Regions from separate parts of the Homo sapiens genome. Here all the other regions are linked to region 1. Evidence: promoter capture Hi-C in human tissues and cell types (Jung and others, 2019). All regions are on one chromosome and are shown on one strand. The core of a region is centred on a gene start or on the middle of the fragment in contact, and the rest is flanking DNA. Distances in the headings are between cores, read along the strand shown. Region 1 holds the start of FOXQ1 (forkhead box Q1). Region 2 has its middle 120 kb from the start of EXOC2. Region 3 has its middle 160 kb from the start of LINC01622. Region 4 overlaps LINC01622 (long intergenic non-protein coding RNA 1622).

Region 1 (3,462 bases), core at 349-2,848:
GCTCGCCCGCGCCGTACGCGCAGAGCGGCAGCAGGGCCCTGCAGGGCGCCGCGGGGAGGAGCGCGGGGAACGCGGGCAGCGGCGGGCAGGGCGCGGCGCCCCACTGAAGCGTCGTCCCGGGGGCCGTGTCCCTGAGGCGGCGGCTGCGGAAGGGCTTGCGCAGGATGCTGTCGATGGCGAAGGAGCTGGAGAACTTGCCCGCGGGGCTGGCGCGCTCCTCCTGGCGGGCGGGCGAGCGCATGCGGGGCGAGGCCGGGGCGGCGGGCGCGGGCGGCGGGGCGGCGGGGAGGCCCGGGGCCTCCTCGGGCCGCAGCCCGGGCGCGGGGACCGGCGCGCGGTGGCTGAGGCGCTTGCGGCGGCGGCGGAAGACCCCGTCGGCGAAGGTGTACTCGCTGTTGGGGTTGAGCATCCAGTAGTTGTCCTTGCCCCAGGGCCGCGAGGGGTCGCGCAGCACCTTGACGAAGCAGTCGTTGAGCGAAAGGTTGTGGCGCACGGAGTTGCGCCAGCCCGTGTAGCTGCCGCGGAAAAAGGGGAACTTGCCCATGAGGTACTCGTTGATCTCCGCCAGCGTCAAGCGCCCGCCCGCCGAGTCGCGGATGGCCATGGCGATGAGCGCGATGTACGAGTAGGGGGGCTTGGGCCGCCGCGTATATGGCTTGCTGCGTGCACCCTCGCCGCTCCCCGCGCCGCCCGCGCCTGGCCCCGCCGCCCCGGCCTCCGCGCCCTCCGCCACCACCGCTGCAGCAGCTGCTGCCGGGATCGCCTCCTCCGCGCCCGGCCCGCCTCCCGCACTCTGTTCGCCGTCGCCCTGCGTATCTCTGGCGCCGCCGCCCGCGGCCGGGCTGTTGGCCGCGCAGTCCCCATCTGAGCCCAGGGAGTCGTCTCCCGCCGCCGACAGCGGGGACGGCGCGTCGCTGCCGCCCGCGCCCTCCAGGTCACTGCCCTGCTTGTCCCCGTGGGCCGCGCGAGGGACGAACACCTCCAACTTCATGCCCGCGCACCCAGTCCCTCCCCGGCGTCGTACCCTCTTCCTTCGCGCAGCCTAGAGAAGCTGGTGCCAGGGAAGGGGATGGCGATCCGGGGCCGGGGATCTTCGCCTTTTTCTCCCGGGAGCTCTACCCTGGTCTTCCGAGATAGTCACTTTTCCGGAGTCCTCTTCCGCTGGGCTTTTTCTCTGGAGGGGCTGCAAGTGTTGGGTGGACTATGGGGCGGAGAGGGAGGAGTTGGGTGGGTGTCGCCTTCGGTTCGACGTTGAGACTTTGGGGTGAGTGTGTGCAGGGGCCGCGGTTCCACCCTCGGGTGCCCGAGCACGCCGGGCTTAGAAGGCTTTCCTGCCGGAGAGAAGCAGCATGCGCATCTGCTGCTCGTTAAAGAGCCCAGGAGGGGTTCTTCACTGGCGGTCCCAGGTCCCGCGCGGGCGTCTTCGGGGCACGGAAATGGTGCCGGATGATGTGCGTGCCACCGTGGGGGAAGGTCCGGCGCCTTCAGCCTTGAGCACCCGCGGAGGCGAGTCCCCGAGGCCGCTGCGCCCGCAGCCGCCTTCCCGCTCCCAGCCTCCGGGGCAGCATCTCCCCGCTGGCCTGCCGCGGCTGCGTCTCGCCTCCACCTTCGGGCCGGCCCAATATAACCCTGCGGCGGCTCCGCGGGGGCGGGGCCTGAGCGCGGACGGCAAGGGGTGGGGGAACGAGGTGGCCGAGGTGGTGGCGGCTCCCCAGTTCCCCAGCTCCCCAACGGGCGCGCACCAGGCGGAGGCCACACTGCAGCGCGGCGGCAAAGTCGCTGGCGCAGGTTGTTTGTTTTGGGTCGGCCGGCCCCGCCTTCCTCCTCCCGCCAATGGGGAGCGCGCGCGCCGCTGTGGGTTTGCGCGTGTCTGTGAGTGTGCGTGTGTGCGCGCGCGGGGCCGCTCCGCCAGCCGGCTCCTCCGTTCAGGTGTGGGCCCCAGCCCCGGGCAGCCCGCGAGGGCTCCCTGCGCCCTGGAGTTCGGGGACGCAGTTTAGGCGAGTGCGCCTGGTTGGGGGGACACGCCACAGTTCCCCTAGGGGGACACCTGAAGGGACTGGGTCTAGGGGAGCAGGGACTTTGCTCGGGCCTAAGCTGCACGCGGCGTATGTGCTTCTGTAGTAGTGAAAACGATGCTGCTTACGAAAGCAAACCCCTGTCGTCACTGCAGAGGTGCTGAACAGAAATTGCGCAGGACACTTGCAGTGACCTCTTTCGGGAGCCTTGTGCTGTGCCCCTTCCTATGAGCTCCTTTCAAGGACCATCTTGTCTTTTCCTCTTGTTTTAATGAATGCACTCCTGGGCTTGAAATTGTATGCGCCTTTTTGGATGACCTTTACTCTTGCTCACTAAATGGGCTCCGACTTTCACTTTTCTTTGTCTTACTTTACCTTTTTCTTTACCTGGCTGGTGACTCCTGCGGGAGGACAGCAGCGTCCTCCTCTTCCCCTGGGGCGGCTGTGTCTGGCGCAGGGTGCTGGGCTGTGCCTGCACTTGTGTCCCTGCGGAAGCCTCAGATGCCGCCGAGCTCCGCCGCTTGGTTCCCGGGATCTGACAGTCAACAGGAACGACGGAGAGGGCGTGTTCCCGGGGGCGGGGGCAAGAACAAACCGGTTCACGGCCATTTCTTTCCAATATTCCTTTGGGACTTTTGCTGTGACCTCACTGGCACCAGTGTCGGACAATCTCGAAAGGGGGGACCGTTCCTCACCCCAGGGCGCCCGGGGCGTGATCCCCACGCGGCGTCATTAGTCCAGGGAGCGGGCGCCTCGGCCCCGGGAAGGTGCACTTCCAGCCCGCTGCCCTGCCACGCCGAGTTTCCTCCTTTTTCCTGCCTTTGTTGCACAAAAAGCGACGGAGCCGCTAGTAGGTGGGAGCTCACCTTTGATGTTTATTTTATTACTTTCCACCATTTGTGTTGAAAACGTACACAATCCTCTCTTATCTTTATTCAGGGAGTTTTGAAGCCATTCACAATGGGGCGGGCAACATGACAGCCCCAGCCACAGCTCTGTTATTTTTGTATTTGGGGAAGGATCGCGTTCGGAGATTAGACTGACTTTATTAAGTATGCGCCTCGGGAGCCAGGTGGGGAATGGCTGCTTTTTGGGAGATGAGCCTTTCTGGAGGGGTCTGCTCAGCTCTAGCCTTGGAGTTGATGGTTCACTAGACCTGGAGAGGGAAGTGGGATGAGACAAATATGTATATCTATATATATATAGCGAGGTAAAGAGGCTTGGATTTGGCCAGGGATAAAAGGCGTTCGTAATGAATGTTTTTCTCTCTTGAACTCTGGGGTTGGGCAGGGCAGGAGGGCACATGACTATTTGATGGGGAAGGTAAAGCCAAGGAGGCTTGAGGTGGGACCCGTGGTCGCTACAGAGTCCAAGGGAGGCCTCTTCGAGACTCCAGGGCCAAGGTGTCCTGCCACCAAGGAATGCTGGTCGCCGCCAGGGAAGGTGG
Region 2 (3,462 bases), core at 543-3,042, 490 kb after region 1:
TTTAATTGTCTAGTAATCAGCACTCTACTAGTGTCATTCAAACCCATGGTAATTTGCTATAGCCATTACTGCAAAAGGCAGGCATCTTGCTCTGATTTTCTACAGAGCAAGATGTCTCCCTGTACTAAGTCCCCAGAGGGAAGCAAGCTGGTTACTCAGAACTTCTGTGTTGTTTAATGAGTAACAAATACTCCTTTCAGCTGCAGTATATTATCTCATATTTGACACTCCAAGGTATGCACCGGCCTTGGACAGGACATAGCATCAGCTCTTTGGAAGATCCGGTTTGCAGGATTTTCTGTTAGTTGACTACACCCTCCTAGTGACCAAAAAGAGGCCAACTGTCCCCCTATCAGAGGCTAAACGATTGCCAAGTTCACGCTTGCTCTGCCTGGGAGCCAGCTGAGCCAGCTGGGCCACATAGTGCCTGTCCACTGAGGCATTCAACTTCCCGAACTGTGAGGACTCCAGCTCATCCCCAGGCTCCTCAAAGCAACCTCAATCTCTTTGCATAGTTTCCTGACCCTGCTTATTTTAAGGAGGCAAAGACTTGGAAGGGGCTTTCCTGCAGTGCCCCCTAGGACAGAGATCCCCTACCTGCATGATCATCAAAATCAACGGGAAAAGTTTCAAAATCATATTCCTGCTACAACCCAGGCAGCAGGGTCAATCGTACTGGGTACAGAGACCCTGAGCCCAGCAGAAGGGATGCCATTGCCCTGAAGCTGTGGCTAAGGAACCACAGTGTTCAGACAGCAATAGTTCAGCTTGGGACATCCAGAGGTTGGTCTGGTTGAAATTCCAACAAGTCTAAAATTCTGATAATTCTATGATGATGGCTATAAATGCATAAGCATTCTTTTTTGGTACTTAGAGGAATAAAAATAAGATGTAGTAAGCACAGAGTCCAGGATACAGGCAAAATTTTAGCCAGAAAGGGGAATTCATGTGGCCTCTGCCTGGCCTTTATCAAGTCACCTTTTAAATTAATGTCGTAATTGAGTTACAAGTCCAATCCTGTGCAGGTCCAGTTAATTCCTTCTTAAGGAGCTGATAATGAATAATTGTCTGCCAACTTCAAGCGGTTTGTTCCTGGACAAAGTCTAAGCCCTGGACCCCTGGAAAGGCAGGATTCTGAGAACTAAGTGCTACAGGGAACAGGGCCTGGCTGGGAAAAGGTGGCGTTCTGCTGATGAAGCTATTTTTGATCACCTATTGCTTTAGGTCTAGTTGAGGGAGAGAGGTGACTCACACATACATAGTCTGAATAATTTATATAACCTGTCTCAGGCTGTGTAAACACAAGTGATCACATTAACCTTTTCAACATTAGAAATAGAAATACTTGCTAGTTCCATATATAGAAGGGGAAAATGAAGCAAAGAGAAAATGAGTAATTATCTCCAGGAATGAGGTGCACAGAAAATGAGTAATTATCCCCAGGAATGAGGTGCACAGAAAATGAGTAATTATCCCCAGGAATGAGGTGCACAGAAAACGATTAACTATCCTGAGGTTACAGAGAGGTTTGTCCTCCGATTTTAGAGATAGATTCTCTTTGAAAGTGACAGGAGAGCTTTGACGGGGTAGGAACAGGGGGATGTCACATGGCAGCCACGGGAGATAAGAATATTTGAGTTAATGAATGTGGAGTCTTGGGACTAATACAGGTGGCAAGTGTATGATTTAAACAACCATATATTTGTTGTTGTAATGTCCTGTTACAGTGTCCACACCCTGGCACATCCACACCATGGAACGCTACTCAGCAATGAAAAGGAACAACGTTCTGATATACACAGCACTTTGGAGGCATCTCAAGGGAAGCATCCTGAGTGGGAGAAAAACACCAAAAGGTGGCATATCGTATGATTCCACTTATATAACAGCTTATTTAACATGTCTGAATGAGAAAATTATGGAGAAGGAGAACAGGTTAGTGGCTGCCAAGGACTAGGGAGGGGTTGGGTAGAAGTTGGTAGTGGTTATAAAAGGGCAGCACACGGGATCCCTGTGGGGAGCTGCTCTCTGCTTTGCATCTGGACTGTGGTGCCCACAGGATCTGCCCATGTGATGGACATACACACACACACACACACACACACACACACACACACACACACACACACGTAGAGCCAGGGAAATCTGAGTGGGGTTGGCAGATTGCACCAGTGTCATTTTCCTGGTTGTGATATTGAACGTAGTTTTTCAAAATGTTACCACTGGGGGAAACTGGATGAAGGATATGTGGGATCTAACTGCATTATTTCTTACAACTGCATGTACAGTTATCTCAAAATAAAGTTTTTAAAAAATACTTTATAAAGACAAGATGTTAAAAGCGAAATGGAAAAGTCTATGAAAGAAAAGTAGATGGCCTAAAAATATCAAAGCTACCTAAAAACACTTTACAATACCCCACCTTCACTTTAATACATTAGAAAGCTTGCTGGGAGCTGAAATACACACATACACACACACACACACACACACACACACACACACAGAGACAGACTGTGTTCGAAGGCAGCAGGAAAAAGGTAGGTTTTAAAATGTGGGTTTTATTCTTATTCAGGTATGGTGAGGCCAGCAGATCAGAAGATGACTCGATGACTGTCATTGAGAAGACAGTTTGTTATTCACAGTTCCGAAGGGGAGAGGGCAGCACACATCACATGCAACACACCACACGGGCCACACAGGGAAGTGCAGGAGGCGGAGTGAGGGGAAATTGTGACATGAGCCTCTATTGTGGTATCAGCAGGAAGGAACAGAAGAGGCGGGCAAGCAGCTTTAGGACTGGGCAGTTTGCGTAATCTCAGTGGGCTTGGGCACACGGCTGTCTCTAGCTGCCTGTTACCTGGCCCTGGGATGATTAGGGCAGAGGGATAGTGGCCTGGAGTGTGAGAACCTATAAAGGAGGTGGCTGGAATGTGGACTCTGGGCTGGTCGGTTTGCAGTTAAAAGGTGCACTCACTTTACTGTCTCTAGGAACTAGTGAACCCTGGGAGAGGCCATCCCTTCCAGGGTCAGCAAGGCCCCAGATGTCAAAGCATCAGAATGAAAAGACGTGCTTGATAGGAAGCATCGTTGGCCGACACTGATGAGCAGCAGGCCTCCTTTCATTGGCTGGCTTTCACACGCTAACCAGGCAGGACAAAATACTGGAACAAGAAGCCTTCCTGAGGTTCCCAGCAAACATTTCTTCTTCTGCACTACGGAACTTATAACTCGTAGCACCTGATTTTTTTTTAACGCTAAGATCTTACACAGATATTGAAATCTTTTTTTTTTTTAGACGGAGTCTTGCTCTGTCACCAGGCTGGAGTGCAGTGGCTTGATCTCGGTTCACTGCCACCTCCGCCTCCTGGGTTCAAGTGATTCTCCTGCCTCAGCCTCCCAAGCAGCTGGGATTACAGGCAAGTGCCACCACGCCCAGCTAATTTTTGTATTTTTAGTAGA
Region 3 (3,462 bases), core at 525-3,024, 370 kb after region 1:
CGCTGAATGAATAAAAGAATAAATGAATGCCAACAGCAGTTTATCAATGTGCTCCTTCTATTATAAGGAGTGTTCCAAGTTTAAAAAACTGTTCATTTAGTAAGTTTTAAATGAAACTTCAGGTTTCCTAATTTACAGTTCTTTAAAAACTATCAATTACTTAATAAAATTTCTATTTTCTTACCGTGCCTATTTAAGGCTTAGATTTTGGAAAGCAGCAAGACTGTTTTCCATTTGTTTGCCATGATCTCATGCAGCAATCTAAAATAGCAAATGTGTAGTGAAGCGTCTGATGATACTGAAGTAAAAAATGCTGCACCCTGAGAACGTACTGTTATTAATAGCCTGGAGCCAGGAAAAGCTTCCTCAAATCTTGAAATTAAAGTGTGTTGTTTATTTCTCTAATAAGAACATTACTTTTCTTCCTTGAATTTGGTTTGAAAAGTAAAATGCAGAAAAATAGCACTCTTTAAAAGCTGAGGGATCCTATCATGAAAATAAGAAGCTGGGAAGATTCGCATTACCACCAGCCGTGGGTGGCTGTTAAGAGGCAAACACAGCTGGTCCTCACTGACATCCACGGCAAAGGTCAAATGTGCCAGATTCTGAAGATTTATCATGAAAAAAAAAAGAATGTACAATCTTTTATTAATATGTTTATTTTGATTACATGTTAAAATCATCAAGTTTTAGAGAGGCTGCATTAAAGCAATATAGGCTTGAAATTAATTTCAACTGTTTCTTTTTCCTTTTTAATGTGGTTATTAGAAGATTTAAAATTGCATATGTGGACAGTGCTGACAATTTGAAACAAAGGCTAAAGAGACATAACAACAAATTGCAATGTGTGACACTTGATTGGATCCTGGTTTAAGAAATAAACAATTATTATAAAAAACATTATTGAAACACTTGCAGAAATTTGAGTATGTACTGCGTGCTAGATATTATGAAATTATTTCTATGGAATTATTGTTTTCTTAGATATAATAATGGTATCACAGTTATATAGGATGTTGTTCTTTTAAAACAAATGCTAGTATAATTAGGGGTGAAATATCACGATGGCTAAATTTATTTTAAAACATGTGGCCATATATATTTATAATTTAACACTTTATAATCATATTTGTATTTAAATATTTTATTTATGTTATTTTAAAAATATATTTTATATAATAAATATATTTTGATCATGTTATATTTATATATTTACACATTTACATGTATTTATACATATATATCTGTGTGTATACATAGATAGCTAAATATGAATCTGAATGAAAGTTAACTTGGTATTCATTGTGCCATTCTTTTAACAGCCATTCTCTTTGTTAGGCATGTTTCATGACAAAAACTTGTGGAGAAGTTCACAGCCCCCCAAAAACACCTTTTGACTAAAATCAAATGTCAAAATCATACCACAGTGACAATCAGTTGGAAGAAAGCCTGTATAAAGTAGTCACAGTTCAGAGAGTCAGATTATAAATAGCTATTTTAAGATAATGTATATATTTTATGCAATCTTATAGACTAATTTATCTATGAATATACAAAATCCCCTTAAGTCTTGAAGTTGTTTGTTTTGCTTTGAAGAAGCAATACTTTGAGGTATACCAAAGACAACATTTTACCTGCTAGAAATTGCCATTCATCCATTTGAGAGTAGATAGATGAGTATTCACTTTCTGAGGATGGTAACCTTCAGTCCATGTCTTTGGTGTAATAGTATACATCTTTTGAACCATACCAATAGGCCCTACCCATGGTAATCGCTCTCAATCTGACAGCTCCAATTTTTGCATTCACATCCACATCCACTTCTACAGAACTTAATCAACAGTAATAGCCTTAAATACTGCCTGAGGGTTTCTTCTATTAGGATGACATGCAAAACAAAGCTTATAGCAGTACAGAAGACTAATGACACTGTGCTTGACAGGTTTAAGGACTGAGTAATACTGGTTGTGAAACAGAAGTAGTTTTTTGGTAACATATTTATTTGGAAGCAAAGACTATGGTATCACCACATTACTTCAGTCAGAGAATGGTTCTTAATATCACTGCAAACATTAAATGGCAAGGAAAACTAGGTTTGTGGAAGACAATTGTTTAAATTTCTTTAAGTACAAGGAGATATTTGACGTTTATAAGAAAAATCTATTATGGTCCAAAGAATATGTCTTTATGATATCACAGGCACCAACTTAATTCCTGGACAGCTCTAGCTCTTGGGACTTCAGGAGATGATCCTGGAAGTCAATCCAAAGGAAACTGGTGTAAGATCAGGTGCCCTAAAGAAAGTTCAAATGTAACCAGAATGTCTGGAGTGTGGCAAAGTCAATATATAAACTACATATTCACTATGTAATGTAAATATTTTTCTGGAGTTGTCCTACCATTCCTCTCCATCTTGAATTGCCCAGCTCAGAAAACCCATTCCCAGGGACCTTTCCTTTCCCAATCCTGCCAAGGAGGCCCATCATATCAACCCTTGTGCCTCTGTCATGCTTTCTTCTTTTCCTGAGAGGATACTTGACATTTCCTTGTCATTTCCTTATGCCCACTGAGCTTGCTCGAAAGCACAGCTGAGCTTTTAAGGCCTTTGATCTTGCCACAGAGCCTGGATCACAGTAGGTTCTCAACATATGCTCAGAGGAGTGGCTTTCAACATTTTTTGACTGAAATCCCCCATGGTCACCAATACTTTTTTGGGGGGTGGGGAAGGCGTCTCACACTGTCACCCAGGCTGGAGTGCAGTGGCATGATCTCAGCTCACTGCAAGATCCGCCTCCTGAGTTCACGACATTCTCCTGCCTCAGCCTCCTGAGTATCTGGGACTACAGGCACCCACCACCACGCCCAGCTAATTTTTTTTGTATTTTTAGTACAGATGGGGTTTCACCGTATTAGGCAGGATGGTCTTGATCTCCTGACCTCATGATCCACCTGCCTTGGCCTCCCAAAGTGCTGAGATTACAGGTGTGAGCCACCATGCCCAGCCCAGTCACCAGTATATTTTAAATGCAGCTCAGCAGACATGCCCAGAGGCCTTGCCTATATAAACTGGAACAAGTATTTCATTAAAAAGCATTTAATCTTACTACATGAAATGCATGGATATTTTTTAATGTACTATAGTTTGGATTTTATAAATATTGTTTTTTAAAAATAAATATCAATACCATTCAATTGATTTCAAGTTTAATGAACTCTACTTTTAAATTGCAGAAGTTACCCACCTGCTAATGATCAGTTAATTGGCTTATTTAGGATAAGTGCAATGAAAAAATAGTCTTTCACCAAAGGTAAATGTAGATTTCCTTGGGGCCTGTTATATTTATTGCTAGTCTAATATAAATTTAGGGAAAAATCACTGCTGTGGATGTTCCATCAACTTCTTACCACCTATTACCCACCTAAGAAGGCATGACAACGTCAGCCTCAGCATTGTCTCTTATA
Region 4 (3,462 bases), core at 594-3,093, 290 kb after region 1:
CAACTCCACTGTGGTCCTGAAGCTACACCCACCCAGCTCCAGCCAAGGAGTGCAATTGGCCAGCGGCCTCCTGCCAGGCCTGCACACCTGCCCTTCACCTGGGTCAAAACCATGCTCCCCACAGCAGCCAGCCAACAAGGAGAGACGGGCTGCTGTGAGTGCTGGCTTTGGTGAGGACCCACAGCAGCCTATAGGGCCCTCCTTAGAGGGTACAGATCTGGGACTTTCCACCCAACCTTCAGTCTCGCTGACCTTATCTTGGGGCTCATACCTGCATGGTGGGGAGGCCTGCCTCTTAGCCCTCTCCACTTTCTCTCATGCAGGCCTTTCTCCCACTAGAATCTTTGCAGACTTCTGCTTCTCAGAAGACCCAGACTCACAGGAGTGGTACCAAGAGTGGTCAGAGAAAAAAGGTGACAAAATATGGGTTTCGGTCTAGATCGTGAATTAGCTAGCAGGTAGAAAGGTCTCCATGATGACTGGTGGAAGGGCAGAGACTCATGTCCTCCTTGATAAGGGATGGCAGCTCGATTGCTAAAGATTTCACTGAGGTGGGCCTTGAAACACCGCTCAGTGGAGGATAATGCAGAGACAGGTGCAATGATGGAAGCATTTGGAAAATATTGGGGGAACAATGTCTACAAGACAGCACAGTTGACTGGTTATTGCAAAGCTGAATTCATGTACTGCAGAAGGAAAAGGAGTCTGGGATGTATTAACTAGCAGTTAATGGTCAAGTGTGAGAGCCAGAGAGCTTCAAGGATAGCTTCTGAAGGGACCCTCATCACCTGGCATGGGTGGGCAGATGCAGTTGAGCAGCAGGTACTTGTGAAAGTGTCAGAGCTCTGGAGATGTGTGGGTGCTCAGTCCAGGCATTTCTGTGATCTGTGAGGCAGAACCTTGGTGGGGAAACCTCTGCATGGCGTTCCCTGTGGACGCTGACTCTACAGTCCCTGTGAGTCCTCTGAAATTGCAGAGGTGGCCCCGCCATATCCTAGTACAAGCGCAGAAGCTTCCCCAACAAGCAACAGGCATCCTCCCCTCTAGGAGGCCAGGGCACAGCTAGGCTTCAATCCCAACAGAACCCAGCTGAGAATATGCTGGGCTTGAGAGGGGAGGAAAAGACTTTTCATCCCAATAATGGAAAGGCCAGCTGGCATGTGTCCACATGGGAGCTAAGGGAGTATGCCTGGGATTGGATTTTGAGGGTGTTTGATCAGACTGTAAATCAGATAAGCAATAGTTAGAAGTAATTTTTTTCAGAATATAAGATTTAACATTGTAGACAGGATGTCAAGAAATGAAGCAAAGCTCCTGGGGTGGCTCTTGGAAGACTGGGTCTTTTTGGGGATGATGGGGCCCCAAAGTAATGGGGGCTAGAAACCAGAGGCCACAACAATGATGAATAGGAAGGTTGGAGGGGTGGCCAAGGGGGCCTGAGCTGCAGGGAGTTTGGGGATGGCTGATACAGCAGATTGTTCTTAGCCTCAGATAGGCCCACAAGGGTGCCACCCCATGCCTGTAATAGTAATGGTAAAGAAGGAAGAAGCGGCAGGCTGAGGACTGCCTCTCCGCAACCAAGACAAAGCCTCCTGCTCAGTCCCCAGGCATACCCAATTTCAGACTTGAAACCCATTGACTGAAGAGCTGGCTTGTCCTGCAAATACAGATTCCTGCAGCATGGTGGCCAGCATATGAGCATTCCCCCAGTCCTTCCTCAAGGGCACCTAAGGCCATTTACTCATGTGACTTTAATCTGGGTAGGGGGAATTACCTGACATTTCAAAGACTATTGGACACAAGGTCTGAATTTCCAGGGATACCTAGAGATTCCACAGAGTCATCTTGGCTTTCCCGGTAGAGTAGGGGACCTGGGGGCCAAGTCATTACTGGATCTGGCTGTTGTCCAGCTCGCAGTGGGCCTGCTGGGTCTGTGGCTTCAGCAGTGGTCTTTCCCAGTTCTTCAGTGGACTGTTAGACAAGAGCTACAGAGCAGGTGGAACTACGCCCACATTAGGGTTCTTGGTTTGTGGGATAAGAGCTATCATAGTGGGAAAGGCCAATTGGAAAAGGTGAAAACCCCCGAAGCTGCCCCCTCAACCTCGCTGAATCTTGGCAGGAGATGGGAAAGAAAGGCAGACTGAAGTCCACCATTAAGGACCTAAAGGGTGCACAGTGTTGGTACCGATCACTGCTCCATCGAATTGTCAGGCTGGCCCCTGCAGAAACTCTATGGATCCCAGAGAACGAATGTCGACTACCACTACTACCAGACTTAACCTAGCAGTAGCCCAGATCACACCATTAGAGCAGATTAGCAAAGCACCAAGAACGGGGCATGTGCCTCTTAGTTTGCCAGTGCATGCTCGACCATTCCATTTGGAAAAGAGGACCAGAAACAGCTCACATAGGACTGATGATATGCACTGCTAATTTAACCACAGTGCTGTATGAACTCTGTGCCTCTTGGCATTGAGACGTGAAGCCAGCTGGACTTCCTGGGTCCAGTGGGGACTTGGAGAACTTTTCTGTCTTACAAAGGGATTGTAAAATGCACCAATCAGCACTCTGTAAAAACGCACCAATCAGTGCTCTGTAGCTAGCAAGAGGTTTGTAAAATGCACCAATCAGTGCTCTGTAAAATGGACCAATCAGCAGGAGTCTAAAAGTAGCCAATCACAGGGAAGATTGAAAAAAGGGCACTCTGATAGGACAAAAACAGAAGATGGGCAGAGACAAATAAGGGAATAAAAGCTGGCCACCCCAGCCGCAGTGGCAACACTCAGGTTCCTTTCCACCTGTGGAAGCTTTGTTTTTTCACTCTTCACAATAAATCTTGCTACTGCTCTCTCTTTGGGTCCATGCCTTCTTTAAGAGCTGTAACACTCACCGTGAAGGTCTGCTGCTTCATTCTTGAAGTCAGCAAGATGAGACCACGAACCCACGAACCAACACTAGGCACAGCATGAGCAGTCCTGGACTGCTTGGCCTAACTGTAGAATACTGTAATGATCAATGACTTCATGCAGACTGAACGAAAGAAACAAGAGGGGGCTCATGCACTGAGAGAGTAAGGAAGACACATGTGATGCTGCAGGTAGGGGGTAAACCCTGCAAAGACTCGGGAGTTGACCACTCCAGTGAAGATTTTAGGGGCCAGAAATTAAGGAGTGCGAGGATTTTGCTCCACAGTGAAAGATAAGTCACTGCATTTTGCATTAACTACTACAAAGAAGTAAGCATGGTGCCTGGGTTCTGGTGGCAACTCATCCCATTCCTAGATTGTGTGTGACACAGAAGGCTTCCAGGTATACCGTGGTGGGCAGGAAAGGGCTGTGCTGTGGGTCCAAGCTGTGGTGCATTCATCCCTACTGCTGGGGCCACACAATCTTGCAGACCCTATGGTGCTGGAGGCATCAGTAGGGATCAGAGGCAGCTTGGAGCTTCCAGTAGTTCCACAGA

The links. Contacts are between HindIII fragments. The study calls those that stand out against the background at their distance.
Region 2: a fragment that was not itself captured here is called in contact with the fragment with the promoter of FOXQ1 in region 1 in 1 of the 25 tissues and cell types used here (lymphoblastoid cells).
Region 3: a fragment that was not itself captured here is called in contact with the fragment with the promoter of FOXQ1 in region 1 in 1 of the 25 tissues and cell types used here (lymphoblastoid cells).
Region 4: a fragment that was not itself captured here is called in contact with the fragment with the promoter of FOXQ1 in region 1 in 1 of the 25 tissues and cell types used here (IMR-90 fibroblasts).

What each region holds. Positions count from the first base shown.
Region 1 is chr6:1,310,234-1,313,695 of GRCh38, reverse strand. FOXQ1 (forkhead box Q1) reads right to left here and starts at 1,598. Exons shown (of 1, transcript NM_033260.4): 1 at 1-1,598. The coding sequence starts at 991. RefSeq lists an enhancer at 428-1,144. The HindIII fragment of the contact is 14,044 bases long and covers 1-3,074 here.
Region 2 is chr6:816,145-819,606 of GRCh38, reverse strand. No RefSeq gene overlaps it. Among named protein-coding and RNA genes, the nearest start is that of EXOC2, 120 kb to the right of the region's middle. The HindIII fragment of the contact is 7,865 bases long and covers 1-3,462 here.
Region 3 is chr6:943,579-947,040 of GRCh38, reverse strand. No RefSeq gene overlaps it. Among named protein-coding and RNA genes, the nearest start is that of LINC01622, 160 kb to the left of the region's middle. The HindIII fragment of the contact is 3,955 bases long and covers 1-3,462 here.
Region 4 is chr6:1,020,949-1,024,410 of GRCh38, reverse strand. The region is part of intron 1 of LINC01622 (long intergenic non-protein coding RNA 1622); the gene reads left to right. Among named protein-coding and RNA genes, the nearest start is that of LINC01622, 79 kb to the left of the region's middle. The HindIII fragment of the contact is 4,755 bases long and covers 1-3,462 here.